Regions from separate parts of the Homo sapiens genome. Here region 2 is linked to region 1. The links are contacts of gene promoters, found by promoter capture Hi-C in human tissues and cell types (Jung and others, 2019). All regions are on one chromosome and are shown on one strand. The core of a region is centred on a gene start or on the middle of the fragment in contact, and the rest is flanking DNA. Distances in the headings are between cores, read along the strand shown.

What was found. Contacts are between HindIII fragments. The study calls those that stand out against the background at their distance.
Region 2: a fragment that was not itself captured here is called in contact with the fragment with the promoter of TSR2 in region 1 in 1 of the 25 tissues and cell types used here (adrenal gland).

What each region holds. Positions count from the first base shown.
Region 1 is chrX:54,434,384-54,441,985 of GRCh38, forward strand. It overlaps TSR2 (TSR2 ribosome maturation factor), which reads left to right and starts at 6,021. Exons shown (of 5, transcript NM_058163.3): 1 at 6,021-6,119; 2 at 6,307-6,397. The coding sequence starts at 6,039. RefSeq lists an enhancer at 5,739-5,788. The HindIII fragment of the contact is 32,321 bases long and covers 1-7,602 here.
Region 2 is chrX:54,249,418-54,256,880 of GRCh38, forward strand. WNK3 (WNK lysine deficient protein kinase 3) reads right to left here. Exons shown (of 24, transcript NM_020922.5): 12 at 6,323-6,470; 13 at 4,542-4,658; 14 at 2,115-2,270; 15 at 1,982-2,033; 16 at 577-714; 17 at 1-217. Among named protein-coding and RNA genes, the nearest start is that of FAM120C, 70 kb to the left of the region's middle. The HindIII fragment of the contact is 4,694 bases long and covers 1-3,597 here.

The DNA.
Region 1 (7,602 bases), core at 4,771-7,270:
GGAGTGCAGTGGTGCCATGTCGGTTCACTGCAACCTCTGCCTCCGGTTCAAGAAATTCCCTTGCTTCAGCCTCCTGAGTAGAGTAGCTGGGACTACAGGTGTGCACCATCATGCCCAGCTAATTTATGTATTTTTAGTAGAGACGGGGTTTCAGCATGTTAGTCAGGCTGGTCTCGCACTCCTGACCTCAGGTGATTGCCCGCCTTGGCCTCCCAAAGTGCTGGGATTACAGGCGTGAGCCACTGCACCTGGCCTGATTGCAATTTTAAAATTGGCAAACAAATACACAATTTGGAATGGTGTTTCTGTAATATTTTGATAACTGTATTTTAACATACTTGACTTCCTTTGTAAACCTATATTTTATTGTATGCATTTAAAAACATTATTCTGGGCTAGGCTCATGCCTGTATTCCCAGCACTTTCGGAGGCTGAGGGAAGATTACTTGAGCCCGGGAGTTTGAGACCAGCCTGAGCAACATAGTGAGAACCTGGTCTCTGCAAAATAAGTTTTTTTGTTTTTTTTGAGATGGAATCTGGCTCTGTCGCCCAGGCTGGAGTGCAGTGGCACGATCTCGGCTCACTGAAACCTCCACCTCCTGAGTTCAAGCGATTATCCTGCCTCAGAAATTTTAAAATAAAATAAAAACATTCTGTGAAGAGCTATATTGACTTTACCAGATTGCCGATGGGGGTTCAAGTCACAAAAAAGGTGAAGACGTTTGGTACTTAGGATACTCGGCCTTGGACTTCAGTCTCAAAGCTAAGGGTTCATTCAGAGGCCTTGGTTTGTTACATCCCAGAGAGGGACTCCATGTGTGGGGATATCTAGCAGGTCTATTCTCTCTGTGTATGTTTGAGGCCTCAGATTGTGGGAACTTCAACTGAGGTTTTCAATATCTTCATTTGGGCCTCTCTGAACTCAATCTACATTGCTGACTCTACAAAAAATGAGTCTCTGGAGCTACGGAGGAGGCTATGCCCCTGAGGTTCTCTCTCAGTCTGGAACTGCTCTTATTATCATCACACACCATGTTGCTTCCTGCCTCTGTGTATTTGCACACATTTTTCCCCTGCACAGAAGGCTCTTTCCTCCTTTCAGTAACACCTTCCACCCCCATACACACACACTCCCCCATCACCCAGCAAAATTCTACTCAAACTTTAAGAATCAGCTCACGTGTCATCTCCTCCGAGAGGCCTGCCACAGCCCCCAGGGCTGGGTCAGGGACCCTCTGCTGAACTCCCATGAGTCCCTGTGCTCCTTTCTCCCTGGGCATTGCACAGAGATAGATTTATCGTAGAACAAATCAATCTTAAGCATCAGGGCCCCACACTTGCACAGGCCACTTCCAGGTCTCTGGTTATTGAGCCTGGTCTATTTGAAGAATGTTTAAGATTTGTCGCTGTGCCAAGAGAAGTTAAAATAACCTGAAATCTTACAGCTCACATGTAAAAGAAACTAGAAATTTTCCCAAGTTTGACAAAAATCTTAAAATGTACATTACTAATAATGAGTTGTGAAATTGAAACTTTTCTAAAATACTAATAATAAAAAATTTTACTCAACTGAATTGAAATCAATTGAATTCTTTGTGTTCTCTCTAGAAAATATAAAATACTTGTCATATGAAGAGTTCTATAAACTCTTTGATATCAAAAAATGTAGAAAAATTAGTAGAGAGGTGAGTCATGTAATTAATAAGAATATTTTATTTTGGCAGGGCGTGGTGGCTCATGCCTGTAATCCCAGCACTTTGGGATGCTGAGGCAGGCGGCTCACCTGAGGTCAGGAGTTTGAGACCAGCCTGGCCAACATGGTGAAACCTTGCATCTACAAAACAAAAACAAAACAACAAAGTAATATTTTATTTTTCTGGGTTAGAAGATGTTTGTGACATTTGTCAGTTTTTAAAAATTTGTAATTTGTAAATTAGATTTCTAATTTTAAGGAAATACTTTCATCAATAAATCAACAAATAAGTAAAGTGTACAATTCAATGGCTTTTAGTATAGTTTCTTCTGATTTGCTCCTTGGCTTTCTCCTTAGCTTTCTCACTGTGTGTTCACATAGTTGTCCCTGTGTGTACACCTCTCTGGTGTCCCTCTTTGCCTGTGTCCTCATCTCCTCTTATTATTATATTTTGTTGTTTTTTGTTTTTGAGACAGGGCTTGTTCTGTCACTCATGCTGGAGTGCAGTGGTACAATCATGGCTCACGGCAGCCTCAACCTCCTGGACTCAAGTGATCCTCCCTCCTCAGTCTCCTGAGTAGCTGGGACTACAGCCATCACACTCAGCTAATTAAAAAAAAAATTTTTTTGTAGAGATGGGGGGTCTTGCTTTGTTGCCCAGGATGGTCTCGAACTCCTGGCCTCAAGTGATCTGAGCCATTGCACCGAGTTCTAATCTCCCCTTCTTTATAAGGACATCAGTCATAACGGATTAGGGCCCACCCATGCAACCTCATTTTATCTTAATTACCTTTTTAAAGGCTCTATCTCCCAATACAGTCACATTCTGAGGTACTGGGGGTTAGGGTTTCTACATATGAATTTGGGGGGTGGTGGATACAATTTAGCTCATAACAGCAACCATTACCTCGTCTAATTTTTAGAACATTTTCGACACCCCCAAAAGTAGCCCTGAAGCCATTTAGAAGTCACACTCTATTCTTTCCCCATCCAAGCCCTGGGCAACCATTCATGTATTTTCTGTCTCTATAGATTTACCTATTCTGTATATTTCATATAAATGGTATCATACAATATGTGGTCTTTTTTGACTGGTCGGTAATTATACGTCCTCTTTCGTTCCTGATTTCAGTAATTTGAGTCTTCTTTCTTTTATTTCTTCCTCAGTCTAGCTAAGGGTTTGTAAATTTTGTTGATCTTTTCAAATAACTGACTTGGCCAGTTGCATTTGCTCACACCTGTAATCCCAGCATTTTGAGAGGCGAGGCAGGTGGATCGCTTGAAACCAGGAGTTCAAGACCAGCCTGGGCAACAAAGTGAGACACCCCCTCCCAACACACACACACACACACACACACACACACACACACACACACACAACCACACACACACACACACACACACACTAGCCAGGCATGGTGGCCTATTCCTGTAGTCCCAGCTAATCAGGAGGCAGAGGCAGGAGGATCCTTTGAGCCCAGGAGTTTGAGGCTGCAGTGAGCAATGTTTGTGCCACTGCATTCCAGCCTGGGCAACAAAAAAAGACTTCATCTCTGAAAAAAAAATAACCGCCCAGGTCCGGTGGCTCACGCCTGTAATCCAAACACTTGGGAAGGCTGAGGTGGGCAGCTCACTTGAGGTCAGGAGTTCAAGACCAGCCTGGCCAACATGGTGAAACCCTGTCTCTACTAAAAATACAAAAATTAACGGGGCATGGTGGCATATGCCTGTAATCCCAGCTACTCTGGAGGCTGAGGCAGGAGACTCCTTTGAACCTGGGAGGCAGAGGTTGTAGTGAGCTGAGATTGCACCACTGCACTTCAGCCTGGGTGACAGCACCAGACTCCATCTCAAAACAAACAAACAAACAAACAAAAAACAACAACTGACTTTTGGCTTCACTGTTTTTTCTTTTCTCTATTGTTTTTCAATTCTCTATTTCATTTATTTCTGTTCTATTATTTATTATTTCCTTTCTTATGCTTGCCTTGGGATTACTTTGCTCTTCTTTTTCTGGTTTTGTGAAGTGGAAGTGTAGGTTATTAATTTGATATCATTCTTTCATTTTTTATTTTTTTGAGACAGGGTCTTGCTCTGTCCCCCATGCTGGAGTGCAGTGGCACAATCACGGCTCACTGCAGCCTTGAGCTCCCAGGCTCAAGCAATCCTCCCACCTCAGCCTCCTGAGTGGCTGGTACTACACGCATATGCCACTATGCCCATCTAATTTTGTTTGTTCGTTTGTTTGTTTGAGACAGAGTCTCACTGTGTCGCCCAGGCTGGAGTGCAGTGGAGTGATCTCAGCTCACTGCAACCTCTGCCTACCGGGTTCAAGCGATTCTCGTGCTTCAGCCTCCCAAGTAGCTGGGATTACAGGTGTGTGTCACCATGCCTGGCTAACTTTTGCATTTTTAGTAGAGACAGGGTTTGTTCATATTGACCATGCTGGTCTCAAACTCCTGACCTCAGGTGATCTGCCCACCCAAAGTGCGGGAATTATAGGTGTGAGCCACCATGCCTGGCCTAGTTTTCAAATTTATTTATTTATTTAGTTTGAGACAGAGTCTCACTCTGTTTCCCAGGCTGGAGTGCAATGGCACCATCTCGGCTCACTGTAACCTCCGCCTCCCGGGTTCAAGCCATTCTCCTGCCTCAGCCTCCCAAGTAGCTGGGATTACAGGTGCTTGCCACCAGACCTGGCTAATTTTTGTATTTTTAGTAGAGACGGGGTTTCACCATCTTGGCCAGGCTGGTCTCGAACTCCTGACCTCAAGTGATCTGCCTGCCTTGGCCTCCCAAAGTGCTGTGATTACAAGCGTGAGCCACCACACCTGGCCTAATTTTTAAAATTGTTTTTAGAGATGGGGTCTCACTATGTTGCCCAGGCTGGTCTTGAACTCCTGAGCTCAAGCCATCCTCCCGCATCAACCTCCCAAAGTGCTATGATTACAGGCATGAGCCACCATGTCCGGCTCTTCTTTTTAGATATGCATGTTTACAGCTAAAGATTTCCCTCTAAGTTTTGCTTTAGCTGCATCTCATGCATTTTTTTATGTTTTTGTTTTCATTCATTTAAAAGTGTTTTCTAATTTGCTTTGTGATTTTTTTCTTTGACCCATTTATTGCTTAGGAGTGTGTTAATTTCCATATATTTGTGAATTTTGTAAGTTTCTTTTTACTGATTTTTAACTTCTTTCCATTGTGGTCAGACAACATACTTTGTATGTTCAATCCTGTTAAATCTATGGAGGCCTACTGTATGGCCTAGTGTATGATCTGTTCTGGAGAATGTTCTTGTGTACTTCAGAAAAACATGTACAGTTATCCCTGGGTATCCGTGGGAGACTGGTTCCACGACCTCCGGAGGATACCAAAATTCATAGATGCTCAAGTCCCTGATATAAAATGGCATAGTATTTGCGTATAACCTATGAATATTCTACTGTATACTTTAAATCATTTCCAGATGTGACTCACGCCTATAATCCCAGCAATTTGGGAGGCTGAGGCAAGTGGATTAAACCCAGGAGTTCGAGACCAGCCTGGGCAACATGGCGAAACCCTGTCTCTACTAAAAACACAAAAATTAGCTGGGAGTGGTGGTGGGCACCTGTAATCTCAGGTACTCGGGAGGCTGAGGCACGAGAATTGCTTGAAACCAGGAGACGGAGGTTGCAGTCAGCCGAGATGGCGCCACTGCACTCCAGCCTGGGCCACAGAGTGACACTCGGTCTCAAAAAAATAGATAAATAAATAATTTCCAGGTTACTTATAATGCCTAATAAAGTGTAAATGCTATGTATATAGCTGTTATACTGTACTGTTTAGGAGAATAATGTCAAGAAAAAAAGTATACACATGTTCAATGCAGATGCAATTTTTTCCTGAATATTTTCCATCTGAGGTTAGTTGAATTCACGGACGTGGACTGCCCCCCATAGGGAGAGCTGATTGTATTTTACTGTTGTTGGTTGCAGTATTCTATACAGATGTTAGGATGCTTTTTTTAAATGCAGATTTTTAAGGCTATACTCACTGAGTCCTCTGCCCCAGGGCCTGGAATCTGTATCTGTAATAAGTTCCCCACATATTTCCTCCGCAGTACCCACGGATCCGGAAACCATGGCCCCACACGTCCTTCAGGTCTGGTGTCCTTTGATTTAAGTGAGTAACTCTGGTGGTGTCATCGATCGCTCTGACAGATTTTTCTTTTGCTCTAGTCTTGCTGCCAGGTCTGCGGAAAAGAGAATCCTGTGTTCTCAGGCTCGGCTTGCGTCTCGTTCTGCCTGGGCCGAGCTACAGAGGGATTGGGCCGCCGGGACGTCACGTGGACTGGGGCCGGATAATGGCGGGCGCTGCAGAAGATGCGCGAGCTCTTTTCCGGGCTGGGGTCTGCGCGGCCCTGGAGGCCTGGCCGGCCTTGCAGGTCAGTGGGGCCAGGGCCAGGGCAAGGTCAAGGTTAGGGCCCGGGGCAGAACAGGAGTTGGTTGGGCTAGGTGCCTGAGGCTTGGCTAGGCGGCATAAGAGGAGTTGGCTGGGCGGCGTAAGCGGCCTCCAGGCTACTCCAGGTCTGCTCCCAAGCTGACTTGGTGGGCTTGGACCTGTGTTTACAGATCGCTGTGGAGAATGGCTTCGGGGGTGTGCACAGCCAGGAGAAGGCCAAGTGGCTGGGGGGTGCAGTGGAGGATTACTTCATGCGCAATGGTGAGTGAATGTGAGGCGCCGCGACCCGCCTGTGTGGGGGTGTGGAGAGGAGGAGCCCCATCCCGCAGAGCCTGCATTTCCTCTCGAGCAGTTGTGGATTGGTACCTAAAGGTGAGGTGGAATGAATTCAGCTTTTAGAATCAGAATCCTGGATTCCAGTGCTTTACGGGCTGTACCACTGACTCGTGGGATTACTCTGGACAAGGCAGTTTACCTCCCTGAGACTCAGTTTCCTAGTTTCTAAAATGCGTATAAAAGTATCCACCAGAGCGCTGTACAGTAGAAATATTATGCTAGTCACATATAATTTAAAATTTTTTAGTAGCCACTTTAATAAAGCAAAAAGCAGATGAAATCAATGTTAGTAAACTCGGTGTGTATGAAATATTTCAACATGTAGTCAGTATAAAACATTGAGATATTTTACATTTTTTAGTATTAAGTTTTCAAAATCTGGTATTTTACAGTTTTAGCACATTTCGATTTGGCCTAGCCATATTTCAAGTGCTCAGTAACCACCTGTGGCTGTTTGGACAGCAAAGATCTACACTGTAGGCTCGTCTTGAGGGATATACAAGAACAAGAGGCCCAGTAGAGGGCCTGTTGCATAGTATGGTTTTTAAAAAAATCTTCATTCAATTTCTAGCTTTGGAGATGACATTAGGCAGAGTCATCTCTCTCAAGAAAGTATACTATCCATTGAGGATCCACACACGTAAATAGTTACAACATTGATAGATTTTCTGATAAAGAGGAGCTCAGGGTGCATGGGGTAACAGGATGGGGAGACAGCTTCTTAGTGGAGGTGGTGAATTGGGCTGGGTCTTAGTGAGAAGGAGTTAACTAGGTGGGGGAAGCAGAGAGAGCAACACTCAAGTTCTGTGGCATGAGGGTATAATGTGTTATATTTGGAAAGTAGCAGGGAGCTCAGTATTGGAGTATGGGCGTGTGTGCGTGGGGGGTGGAGGAGTGGTAGAGAATGAAGCTGGGGTGTGGGAAGCCCCCTTGAAAAGCATAAGACATGGAAGCCCTTATGTGCCTTTGATTTTATCATTTAGGCCAGTGTTTGCCAAAATTCATGCTAACTAGTTCTGTTAGATGTTCAGTGAAGAAGCTTCTCCAGTTACCTTATGTAAGAAAAACTCTTGTTCTGCTCCCACTGAAAAGTCTTAACACTCATGAACATATTAAAGGCTTGGGTAAGA
Region 2 (7,463 bases), core at 1-2,500, 190 kb before region 1:
GAACTATTAGTAACTGGTGCCATTATCTGCCTGTTATCTTCCACTTGATAAAGTATAGCTGGCTGCTTGGTTTCTACACTAGCACATTCAGAAATCTTACCATCAACCACATCCTTGTGTTCTGATTTGGAGGTGAAAAGTGCACGGTGGCATGGATTATTTTCTATAGTGAGCAATGTGTCCCGTGATATTTCCTTATTACTTGTGTTTTTTGGACCTGGAACAATAATAAAGAATGGCTAAGCACGTACTGACGAGTACAAAGCACAGACTAGTACCCTAAGTCAAAAGGAACAGGAGGACAAAGGGGCAAATGAGAACCTGTGTGAAAGTACTCTCGTAAATAAGACTCAAAACACAGAATTCAACCTGTCAAGGGAAATAATGTTTTCCTTTTTTCTCATAAATATTAAATAGGAAATGGCTTAAGTTGTATCCTAATATTAATGTCTTCAAAAAAGCTTATGAAAATTCTCATAAGCATAAAATTCCCATGGAAACCAGTTAAAGATATCATATGTATTTTGCATCCCATCCTTTGAGTCTGGACAAAGCTGGCAGAGAAGAAAAGCTTACTAGGAAGTGGATGTCGGCCAGGAACCGCAGACATGGAATGCTGAAGAGAAGGAGGAGACTGAGTCTCACGGTTTCTTATCGTCTGATTGATACAGAATCGCCACCGACCAACTGGGGATGACTGAGGAGCAGATTCATCTGCAGAAATAATTAGCAAAAAATAATATGCTAAGCTATTTTCAATTTATTTACCTTATTGACTGAAGAAGCCAGGTTAAATAAACAATTTGTCTTATATCTCCATTTCTAATAGTACTAGAATATATGTAATTGATAAGACCAGCCCTTTTAATACTGACAAAAAGTCTAAAGTACTAAGCACACAATATCTTTAGAGAAGGATTTTAGATTCTACTGAAACAAATATTGCTTGAATAGCAATTAGAAACAGGGTACTCTTTGAAAAAACTGACAGCACTTTTCTCATTAAAACCTATATCTCTTATTCTGTATCCTGATTATGATAGTGCTTATATAAATCTATACATGTATTAAAATTTACAGAAGTGTACACCAAAAGAAAATCAGTTTTACTGTATGACATTTTTTAAAATAAAGTAAAATAAACCCCTACATCTTAACTGCTACTTTGTAAATGTACTCAAATAAGTAATTCTCTTTTAAACTCTACCCAACTTTGTTAGTCAGAAACCTACTCATATCTTGGCTAACCAGAAAAATAAGATATAGGAAGGACTGCATCCTAACACAGTCAAACTAAATTTCAGGATAATGGTATCTGGTTCTATTACTCCCACACCACCTTTTGCTTCTTTACGTTCCTGTAATTTCTTCAGGGGTGCTCATTTGTCTATGGCTCTTATCCCCCTCCCAGACACTCTTTAATATACCCATGACCAGAACTGAGAAGAATGGAAAGATAAAGTCATCAGAAAAGAAAACAGGAGACCCTAGTTTTCGCTTCTGGAAGTTTATCTGGTATCTGATTTACTAAAAGTTATCAGTGACCAGCGCAAGTAGAAGCATATCATTCATCGTTAGTAGAATAAAATCAAGATACGAATGACTATTGAAATATGAGGCAAACTTAGAAAATGATGACTTTTGTTAAAAAGTTTCTATCCATCTCAAATCAGAAAAAAATAACTTACCAGTTAAGTTTCAAACAGTTATGCCATTTAAGGTCATCAGTACTGTGACTGCTTTTCTGGTAACATGACCACCCAATAACTCAAAAATAAATCAATCAGATAAAGAACCAACACTTGGGGAAAAGTCAGGGGATGGATTATTACCTTTGGGCCTTTCAAAGTGTGAGAAAACCTACACTAATAAGTTACCAAATTAATTTATTGGCTAACATCTTTCCCAATGAAGGTGTGTTAAAAGTTTTCAAATGTCTTGCTTCAAAAACCAAATGATAAATTTTACTAAATATACTTACTGCTGGTTTGAGTAGATGTAGAATTTATCTGTACTTGTTCAGATGACCCTGTCTGAATTAAAAATGAATAGATAAATTAAAAAGTTCCTGATTCATATCTGAGAAGATCTGTTTGCTAAACAATTGTTCTCACCTGGCTACTGTTGGAGTCCACAGTAATAGAATCAACTCCAGTGGCTCTTTCTGTGGCAAAGTGGACATGAAGGATCTCCTGGGCTTGACCTACAATAGCTCTCAATTCTTCTACAAATTTTTCTTTCTCACTTTCCAGCACAAAGTTATCTTCAACCTGCCCAAAAGTAAGTCTATTCATGAGAATGAATTCAGTTTCTTCAAAGTTATAATATTATATAAATAGTGACTATCACATAAAGAAAGAAAATTGGGCCAGGCACAGTGGCTCATGCCTGTAATCCCAGCACTTTGGGAGGCTGAGGTGGGTGGATCACCTGAGGTCAGGAATTTGAGACCAGCCTGACCAACATGGTGAAACCCTGTCTCTACTAAAAATACAAAATTAACTGGGTATGATGGCGGGTGCCTGTAATCCCAGCTACTTGGGAGGCTGAGGCAGGAGAATTGCTTGAGCCCAGGAGGCGGAGGTTATGGTGAGCTGAGATTGCACCATTGCACTACAGCCTGGGCAACAAGAGCAAAACTCTGTCTCAAAAAAAAAAAAAAAAAGAAAAGAAAAGAAAAAGAAAAAGAAGAATAAAATTAAAATTAAGTATCTAAATCCAAGTGTCACAATAGAATTCACAAAGACCAGCAATAAAATGCCAAAAAATACATTAAATTATTCTGAGACTACTGACATTTCTCAGATTGGCACTACCTACCAGAGAAGGAACCAGCATTTTAAAAAATATGTCATTCTATAAATTGGTTATTTGAAGAACATAACTGAGGCAATGTTTAAAACTAAGATGTCCAAACCCAAAAGCTTTTAAATCACAAACCACAAAATGAAACATCTCCAAAGAAAATAAAGAATAGCTCGGAAGGCTGGGCACGGTAGCCCAGCACTTTGGGAGGCTGAAGTGGGTGAATCACCTGAGGTCAGGAGTTCGAGACCAGCCTGGTCAACATGGCGAAATGCCATCTCTGTTAAAAATACAAAAATTAGCTGGGTGTGGTGGCGTGCGCCTGTAATCCCAGCTACTTGGGAGGCTGAGACAGGATAATCACTTGATCCCAGGAGGCGGAGGTTGCAGTGAGCCAAGATCACACCACTGCCCTCCAGCCTGGGCAATAGAGCGAGACTCTGTCTCAAAAAAAAAAAAAAAAAATAGCTCGGAAGACCACTAATTAGGTTAAACATTCCTGAAAAGAATGAAAGAAGAGACAGTTCAGAAAATATTACGTTAAACAAGAACAGAACTGATGATGAAATAATTAACTTTTAAAATGTTTAATTCTGCTTGGCTAGAAATGCATACACAAAGAAAGCTGGCAGAAACAAAAAGCATTATATGCACTCTTCCTGCCATCCTAGTCCCATCCCCATCAAAAAAGGGGAAGATGGAAAAGTAACCTAGAAAATAATAAAAAAAAATAATAAAATAAGGGGGGAAGAAATACTAACTTAAACCTAACAATTCAAAGAAAATATTAAAAACTAAATGAAACAATAACATGCAAGATGTTAGATCAGTGACTAACACATTAGAATTACAAGGGGAGGGATACCCCATTTACCTTTACATCATTCTTACACATTGTATACCTACATCGAAATATCTCATGTACCTCATAAATATATAAACTTTCTATGTAGCCACAAAAATTAAAAAAAAAAAAACAGAAAGAAAAAGAATTACCTGGGGCTTTAGCTTTTTCAAAGCCTGTTATAAAAAATAAAAATAATAAAAGGTAACTTTTTTTTGAGACAGGGTCTTGCTCTGCTGCCCAGGCTGGAATGCAGTGGCATGATCATAGCTCACTACAGCCTCAATCTCCTGGGCTCAAGCAATCCTCCTCCCTCAGCCTCCCAAAGTGCTGGGATTACAAGTGTGGCCACCACATCTGGCATTTTTTAATTTTTTGTGAAGACAAGGTCTCACTCACTACATTGCCTAGGCTGGTCTTGAACTCCTGGGCTCAAGTGATCCTCCTGCCTAGGCCTCCCAAAGTGCGGGGATTACAGGCATGAGCCACTGTGCCCAGCAAAAAATAAACTAAAAAAAAAAGAATTACCTGGGGAGCTTTACAAACTATTGATGCTTGGGCCTCACCTCCAAATATTCTGATTTAATCAAGGGACCAGGCAATACAATTGTTTTTAAAAAGCTTGTCAGGTGATTTTCACATGCAATCAGAGATAAGAGCCATTTAGCTATATTATCTCTAAATGAAACCTCTGCATATTTTCCAGTTAAATATACTGAAACCGGAGGAGATGCAGTGACTTACACTTGATGATAACCCAATTTACCTCTGTACAAAATTTTAAAACTAATCGTACTCTAAAAAACAATGGCTCAAAATAAATGGAGACAGAATTATAGGGGAAAAAAGACAGAATGCTGAAGGGAAGATAATTTGGTCTTACTGCACTTACCATATAGTCTGCAATATCCTCTGGCGCATCACCATCAACATCAAACTTGAAGGTGACCATCTTGTTGTTGTGTGTCTCCAGCTGACACTCTACCATGTTATCTCCAGAGGTTGATACCTGAGTACAAACATTTTACCGGTTTAAGAGTCAATCACTGTCTTCTTTTTGCAAATTGTGCAAGGAACATCTACACTAGTTCACGTACAATATATGTGGAAAATGGCTTAAATAGTTCAGAATGTTTTCCCTTGGTGGAATACCATCTAAACAGCCATTCTATGACTAAACTAACAGGTTCAAGTTACTCAGTAAAAAATAAGTTATAAATGTGATCCTGTGGTAAAGAAAACAATACAACTTTTATAAGAAAGCAAAAAAAGTTATAATAGTCACTAGAGCTATCTGCAATGCAAAGATTTAAATTTAATAATTCATTTCCAAAATTATCTTAATCTATAAATTGACTCTAAGCAAAAGAAGAGGCACTGCAAATGGAAATGTAACCTGGACCAATCTTTATGGACAGCAATCTAGCAACATGTATCTAGAAACTTTAAAAATCTTCATATTCTGATCCATGAATCCGTCTCCTATGGATCTAATAAGGAAATAATCAGGGATAGATACAAAGATTTATGTTCAAGGATTTTGCTGCAAAGATATACAGACAGACAAAAAGAGTAAAAGACAGCAAGTTAGAAAAAAGACAGACTGGGAAAAAGATGGAAAGAAAGAACATAAACCAAGAACATAGGGAATGTAAGTTATTTCTCTGTATAAGCAGCTATCTAATGTAGCCATTTAAAATGTCATGTTATTGAAAAATTAATGATACAGGAAGGCATACATGATATATTAGGTTTTTAAAAATGCAGGATATAAAATTATATATAGGTTTAAGCAGCCAACTAAAACATACATTATATTGGTTAGAGATACGGGCTTTAAAGTCCGATCTAGGTTCAGATCTGACATTATCACTTGCTAGTTGAGTGATCTTAGGCAACTTACTTCGCTCCTCTGATTTCATTTTTTTTTCAGATGGAGTTTTGTTCTTGTTGCCCAGGTTGGAGTGCAATGGTGTGATCTCAGTTCACCGCAACCTCCGCCTCCTGGGTTCAAGCGATTCTCCTGTCTCAGCCTCCCGAGTAGTTGGGATTACAGGCATGCACCACCATGCCTGGCTAATTTTTGTATTTTTAATAGAGACGGGGTTTTATCATATTGGTCAGGCTGGTCTCGAACTCCTGACCTCAGATGATCCACCTGCCTCGGCCTTCCAAAGTGTTGGGATTACAGGCGTGAGCCACTGCGCCCGGCTCACTCCTCTGATCTTTAGTATCTTCATTTGTAAAGATGAGTATATACTATGACCTATCATACAGGGTTATTGAAGGATTAAATGGTAAAATGCATGGATAACATTTAGGGTGCCTACCACAAAAGAACTCAATAGATTTTTGCTGCGATTACTAGTACTATTACAACCTCAATAATGTAAAACACTACATGTACATACAGGAAAAGGAGAGAAAAACAAACTAAAACATTAATAGGAGCTATCTCTGAATGGTGGTTAAAAGTAGATTTTATTTTCTTTCTTATATTTCCTAAGTTTAACAACGAACACATAATACTCACATTGGAAAGTCTGTAACGGAGAAAAGGTTAGTTTAGAGAGGGTCTCGCAATATTCTACAACTCACTTCTGCAGCACTGCCCCTCTCTGACCCTCCAGACCTCTATATGTACTCTTAACCAAACCATATTTACAAACTGACCTGAAGGACGGTAAGCTGAAATTTAGTCCCCTTCTCTGGTCGGGGACAGGAAGCTCTTCTCTGTTTGATCCGATCCTGTTTGCCATTTCCACTTGGGTTATCAGGGCTACTGACGTTTTCCTTCGTAGTTGCCACATCTTGATTCAAGCTAGTAATATTTTTAAAAAAGTAACTCATTCCAGTCTTGACAGTAAAATTCTAAGAAAAACTCCCAATTATAAAACTATAAATAATGAATTTAAGAAAAATTAATACTACAATCTTTTTAAAAGTTATGACTGCACAACTCTGTGAATATACTAAAAGCCATTAAATTACACACTTTAAATGAGTGAATTATATGGTATGTGAATTATATTTCAATAAAGCTTTCTTAAAAAGCTGAAAAATCAAGGTCACACTGTATTTATTTAGCATTTAGCAAACCATCTCACAGTGATGAGAATGAAAGAAAAATATTGCCAGTGATAGACCTCTGTGGAGCCTTTTATTATAGGGTGCTCTTGATCAGTTTTATCTTGTTTGTTTGGTTACTTTATTAATATCTTCAAACAAAACTTCTAAAACCAAAACAAATTATCACTCAAAATATACTTGTTTATGTAATGAACTCAACAGGGTAGACCAGGTATGGGAGACAAGAATAGTGTTCTGCAGGAGGCAGAACAAGATATGAAAATGAATGATGTAAAAATAGCTCAACATTATTAATTCTAATTAGTTACATTTTACAGGTCTACATCAATATTATTATGAAAGGGGAGGCTACCTTTTAGTTTATCTGCGTCAAAGGCATTTTTCAGGTTTTTCTTTAAACTCAAACATATTTCAACAAATACAAAAATTTCAATAAACACGTTTGGAATTTAAATGACAAGCTCTAAGTCTCAGACATCTTTTTGAAATAGATATCTTTCAAGTTAATTTAAGCAAGTTATTTCTCCTAAAAACTACTCATGAAGCATCTATATATAGATGTACAAGAGATAAAAATAACTCCTAAATTTTTTATGTCCATATGACGTATGACATAAATATAAGTAGTGGAAGAAGATACATTAATACTGCCCTTAAGAGTTTTTTAAATACACAGAGAAATGGCAGTAACAAGTAATCAGAGGATAAAAGGAATATAATTTTA